Linked DNA regions of Homo sapiens: region 1 is linked to region 2. The links are contacts of gene promoters, found by promoter capture Hi-C in blood cells and fetal thymus (Javierre and others, 2016). All regions are on one chromosome and are shown on one strand. Each heading gives the region's core, a stretch centred on a gene start or on the middle of the fragment in contact. The rest is flanking DNA. Distances are from core to core; before and after follow the strand shown. Region 1 has its middle 5.7 kb from the start of H2BC11. Region 2 holds the start of H1-1 (H1.1 linker histone, cluster member).

Region 1 (2,922 bases), core at 45-2,544, 1.1 Mb after region 2:
CCAACAAGGCTTTCCAAATAATACAGTCCTGAATTTGAGCCTCAGAGAAGGCAGGTATATTTTCAAGTCATGCACTGTATCAATTGCCTTTTTTTGGTACATAAAAGAAAATACTGTATATGCTAATAATCATTAACAAAAAAACATTCAGGTAAAAAGAAAAAATCTGAGTTTTAACAAAACTGAAAAACACTCAGAAGAGGACTATATGGAATGACAATTTGTTTTTCATCTTCTGGATCATCCCCTGAGGAAAGTAAAGAAATTTCCCTCAGGATATTCCAGTTGGCAACAGCAGAGCAGAGGAATATTACTTTATTCATTTATTCAGAGAAGTACTTTGCTGGGCACTGTTCTAGAAGCTGGGAAATACAAGTGATCAAAATATAACCTACCCCACAACTCCCAAATCCAGCTCGAAAAAACTTTTAGTGTGGAGGATGGGATAGTAAAGATAATAAGCCAATGAATAAGGAAAACATAGCATTTCAGATCTTTATATTATGATAAAAAAAAAAAAGTCCTAAATTGGAACAGGAAACACAGATGGGGTGGCTCAATTACAAGACAGCAGTTAAAGAAGGCCTCACTGACAAGATGAGTTCCCAGTGTCAGGACCCCAATATCCTTCCTTACAAAGAGTGGGGATCCCACCCTAGAAAAGGAATAGCAGTTCAGCCACCCCACAGCAGCTCTGGCATGGCTGTTTCTGGATACCTTCATGGAGAAATGCACACACTGCCCTTCATTTCAAAGATGAGCATCAGTCTCGTCTTCAGAGAAGATGCAGCCATTGTGGGGTTAGGGTTTCTCTCCTCAGGTCACTAGTGTAGATGCGCCTGCTGAGAAGTTTCAGCCACTCCACCTGCAATAAGAAAGACAGTTAATGAGAAAAGCAAGAGACAGAACCTGTGAAGAACATGTGACCATCAGTCATTTGAATGAAAGGGGGCAAATGTGAATGAAAGGGGACACATTTGTTTATTTGTGTTTGTATAAAGATATTCCAGACAGGTACACAGGAAACGAATAAAAGTGGTTAATTGTAGTATATCAAAGATAAAACACCAGGCCTTACTTTAAATGACGAAAACAGATTTTATTTAGTAACCACTGACAGTGGGGAACCATCTGGGTTTCATAACTGGCACATATCAAAATCAGGCTCCACTCCTACCAGAGCCTGGGAGACGAGGGCCCTATCTTCAGACGTTGACTGAAACAAACAGTAAATTCCTTTGGCGGCATCAATTGAGTTTTCTCAGGCAGGCACTTGAGAAGACCGGGGCTATTAGTAACTATGTTCGGGTTTGTTCAGGTCTTTATAGACCAAGGTGGCCACCTAGTCCAGAAGAGGGCTCAGAAGAAGCCGCCTAGAGTTTGGTCAAAAAGAGAATCTTTGCCAAGTAGATGGGGGAACTGGGCGGCTGGGGGCTGTTGGGGATGTGATGGTTTATAGTATTTCTTGTATATTCAATTATTAAACCGTAGCAATGAAATGCCTAATCGAAATCATAAAACGAAACAAAGTTTTGGCTACATTAGCCTATCCGTTATTGCCATAAGATGGCGACAGCCCTTCTCAACTCATAAAACTAAACAAAGTTTTAGCTACATTATCCCATCCATTATCGCCACAAGATGGCGATAGCGCTTCTCAACTCGCCTGCGGGACGGAGGCAGGGTGCGGCCCGGAGAACTCCTCCCTGTTCCAACAGCAGCTCTCCAGCCCGCAGCGCTTCCTGACGTTCCGTTAGTTCAGTCTCCTGAACTTCTCTGCATGTAGATTCCTCTCAGGGTAGCCCTTTGTTGACCAAAAACGAAATATGTTCACTGATTTGGCCAGCTTTTTTTTTTTTAACTTTTTTTTTGGAGGGGAAAGGGAGTGGTCATGGACATCCTGAAGCAGACACAAAAATATAGAGAATCCTGCACTTCCCAAGTCTCGTCGCACAGGCTTCAACAATTACCAACATCTTGCCCATTTTGTTTCATTATCCGCACCCACACTGACAGATGAGGGAGTCTAAAAAATATCTGAAACATGAAATCCCAAATATGTGATTTTAATCATGAATATTTTCACAAATATCCTAACAGATATGGATATAAAGAAAAAACGCTAAGATTTTACACCTAAGAAAATTTAAAAAATGATGTGTAACATTATCCAATACCTAGCCCTTAAAGAAAGAAAATCCTGAATTGTCTCAAATATTTTTATATTTTGTCTGAATGAGATCCCACCAGATCCAAATATGGCATTTGATTGCTGTTCCTCTTGAATGTATTAAAATCCATAGATTTACCCAAGTCTCCAAGTAGCCTGACTGCCCTTTGAAAAAGGAATTGAGACCATAATCTGGGTGGGAATTCTCACTGATCATGGATTGTCATTGCTTTTAAACCATTCTTTGAAAAGTGTTGGGGAAAAAATATTTTGTTTTCTTTCTTTTTTTTTTTTTTTTTTTTTTGAGACAGAGTCTCTCTCTGTTGCCCAGGCTGGAGTGCAGTAGCACGATTTCAGCTCATTGCAACCTCTGCCTTGCGAGTTCAAGTGATTTTCCTGCCTCAGGCTCCCAAGTAGCTGGGACTACAGGCACGCACCATCACGACTGGCTTATTTTTGTATTTTTAGTAAAGACCAGGTTTCACCATGTTGGCCAGGCTGATCTCTAACTCCTGACCTTACGTGATGTGCCTGCCTCAGCCTCCCAAAGTGCTGGGATTACATGCATGAGCCACTGCACCCAGTCAAAGGTATATTTTTTATGAGACTATTTTTAAAAACACTCAAATTGTCTGTCACAGCTCCTTGCCTATGCCCCTAAAAAGAGAGGGGAGGAGTGGGGGAAGGGGGGGAAACAGAAACAAAAAGAAAACTGACAAACAGAGGAGGAGTCCAAAAGCCCAACACCCATT
Region 2 (2,700 bases), core at 68-2,567:
CGCTGCAGAAAGCAAGCGAGCTAGGCCTACCTGGCGGGGCTTTCAGAGGACGCCAACGTGGGCGCCAGCCACGCCAGCAGGGTCACCGTCCTTCCCAAGGACAGACAGCTCGCTAGCCACTCCTGTGGAGAGGGCGTGGTTAAGCCATATATTTTGCCAACTATCCCAGAAGCATTTCTTAGGACCACCCAATTTCGGAAAATGCTACTTTAGCAATATTGACCCCAAAACGCAATATCCCCACTTTAACCTTGTATAATAAAAAGCCTCAAGCCTGGGACTGGGCTTCAACCTTGGTTCAATACGGTTATGACTAATTAGCTTGGAGTCGTGAGACGCGGGACTTCCGGCTACCGAAACCCAGGTGACTTTAAAACTCGATTTTAACTCGGTGCATTTGAATTCACCTTGCTATCTTTGATAGATTGAGTAGTAAATTCTTACTAGATGAGGCTATGTTAAAGTTCTATCGACTCTCCAAGTGATTCTAATATAATTGAGGGCGTGTTGCATTTGCTTGGGGGATTTCATCTGTGTACTACAGCTCTTTTCCTGAAATGCGTAGGTGGCTCTTAAAAGAGCCGTTGGGTTACTAGAAGAAACTTCTAACTGAATTTACTTTTTCTTGGGTGCCGCTTTCTTGGGTTTGGCAGTCTTTGGCTTCGTCACCCTAGCCTTGGCCGCCTTGGGTTTTACAGCCTTAGCTTTAGCAGGGCTTTTAGCTACTTTCTTGGGCTTTACAGTTTTGGGTTTTTTTGGATTCTTGGAGGATTTCCTTGTTGCCGCAGGCTTTTTAGCCTTTTTCGGAGTCTTGACGCTCTTTTTGCTAGCCCCCGTGGCCTTTTTGAGCTTTTTAGATGCACCCGTTGCCTTAGTTTTTGTAGCCACCTTTGAGGCGCCGGGCTTGGTTTCCACGGAGGACGCCTTCTTGTTGAGCTTGAAGGAACCCGAGGCTCCGGTACCCTTTGTCTGCACCAACGTTCCCTTGCTTACCAGGCTCTTAATGCCCAGCTTAATGCGGCTGTTGTTCTTCTCCACGTCGTAGCCTGCGGCCGCCAGCGCCTTTTTAAGAGCTGCCAACGACACACCACCACGCTCCTTAGAGGAGGAAGCAGCCTGCACGATCAGCTCTGACACGGAAGGGCCAGCGGGTTTTTTCTTGGAGGCTGCTGCAGCCTTAGCAGGTTTCTTTGCCTTCTTGCCAGCTAAAGGTTTCTCAGGAGCAGCAGAAGCGGCGGGGGCGGGAGGCACTGTTTCAGACATGGTGACTAACACAGCACACCAAATAAAGTGGTATAAACCTGACGAAGCAGGATGCGAAAAAAAGGCCCCAACGCAGCCTATTTATAGGGTGGGACTGCGCCGTGATTGGTGCCCGTCAGTGCCCGCCCCTCGCGCCCTAGCGCCCCCTGCGCGCTGCCGAGGGTTTCGCCCAGTCTCAGAAGGCAGCTGGGGGCCTCTAGGGCCTATGGTCCTGCTCCCCTCAACGCAAGCAAACACACAGAAAAAGCCGCTCTGGTTGCCTCATTGTGAAGGAAATTGTAGGCAGACTGCCGCCCAGTAACATCAGAGGGTACCGCTTCTCTCTCAAAAAGCAGCTCTTTTTTAGGGAGTAGGTTGAGAGGGGGCGGTTTACAAATGCAGTGCCACAAGCATCCGAGGAGTTTTATTAGAAATTTTTAGAGGTCCGTTGCCAGAGATGTTAGTTTTTAATTTGCAAGAAATGTAAAATACAGTGTTTTGAATAGTTGCGGAGGGAGAGAAAAGTGCGAGTTTTAGGCCGTGTTAGGGCCAGTTGTCATCAACTCTATTACATTTTCTGGCAATGTTTTAGAGCGATGTGTCTCGCGAATACCTTTCACGTCAAACAAGAATGAATCGTAGACAACACCAGAATTCACAAACGCTGCAATTAATACTCAAACTGCAAGTGTGGAAACGTTTCTGCACTTGCAACTTATTTCCACAGTCCAATGTGGGATGCACTTCAGGAATTTCCAATGCCCTTTTCATCCATACAACATGCCCCAAATTGGTATTAAGGTTTACAACCTGTGTTCCATGTCAGCACACGCAATCAGCGCACCATGACATGGTCAACTCATTCTTTTATTCAACAAATATTTATGGGCCTCACAAGCCTGCGAAAGGCGTTAAATGCTGGGTCCACGAAACCGGTTCCCTGACAGGCATTCTGCTGGGGAGTTAAGTCCACTTAGTGTGAAAGCAAACACGGGTGATAAATGCAAGCACACCCTGGGGATAAGATTTTATGGTAACAACCCTTTAACTTGTTTGTGGCTGTTAAGTGCATTTCAAAGTATCAATAAGCTAAAACGATCTCACATTGCCAATCAGAGACTCAGCTAATGGGAGAATAAAAAACTATTAAATCGACATCCACTTCTACAATCCTATTCTGGATAACCCCCTAGCACAGCACAGCAGAGAGTGAGGTAATGCGGTCTTATTTCCGCTCCTGCTGTGGTAGTTTTCAAATAAGTCCGAACCATGCTAAGTAACCTGAGCTTTTCCCCTTTTTGTTCAAACAACGTGCCAACCAAATAATGGAGTGGTCCCAGATAAGTATTGTACCCATCTTCTGCACCAGTGCTTCCTACGTCCCATTTTATTGAGAAGGCATGCATTCAAATATTTCACGTAATTTCTAAAAATTTGGAAAATAACGGTTGGAAACTC

What was found. Contacts are between HindIII fragments. The CHiCAGO score rates a contact against its expected background, and 5 or more counts as called.
Region 1: a contact is called between a fragment that was not itself captured here and the fragment with the promoter of H1-1 in region 2, in 1 of 17 cell types (activated CD4 T cells). The highest score is 5.1, in activated CD4 T cells.

Annotation. Positions count from the first base shown.
Region 1 is chr6:27,125,598-27,128,519 of GRCh38, forward strand. No RefSeq gene overlaps it. Among named protein-coding and RNA genes, the nearest start is that of H2BC11, 5.7 kb to the right of the region's middle. RefSeq lists enhancers at 1,450-1,499, 1,710-1,779, 2,802-2,922. The HindIII fragment of the contact is 5,241 bases long and covers 1-2,922 here.
Region 2 is chr6:26,016,470-26,019,169 of GRCh38, forward strand. H1-1 (H1.1 linker histone, cluster member) reads right to left here and starts at 1,318. Exons shown (of 1, transcript NM_005325.4): 1 at 563-1,318. The coding sequence starts at 1,263. The coding sequence ends at 616. It also overlaps the pseudogene H3P26. RefSeq lists an enhancer at 1-510. The HindIII fragment of the contact is 5,921 bases long and covers 1-2,700 here.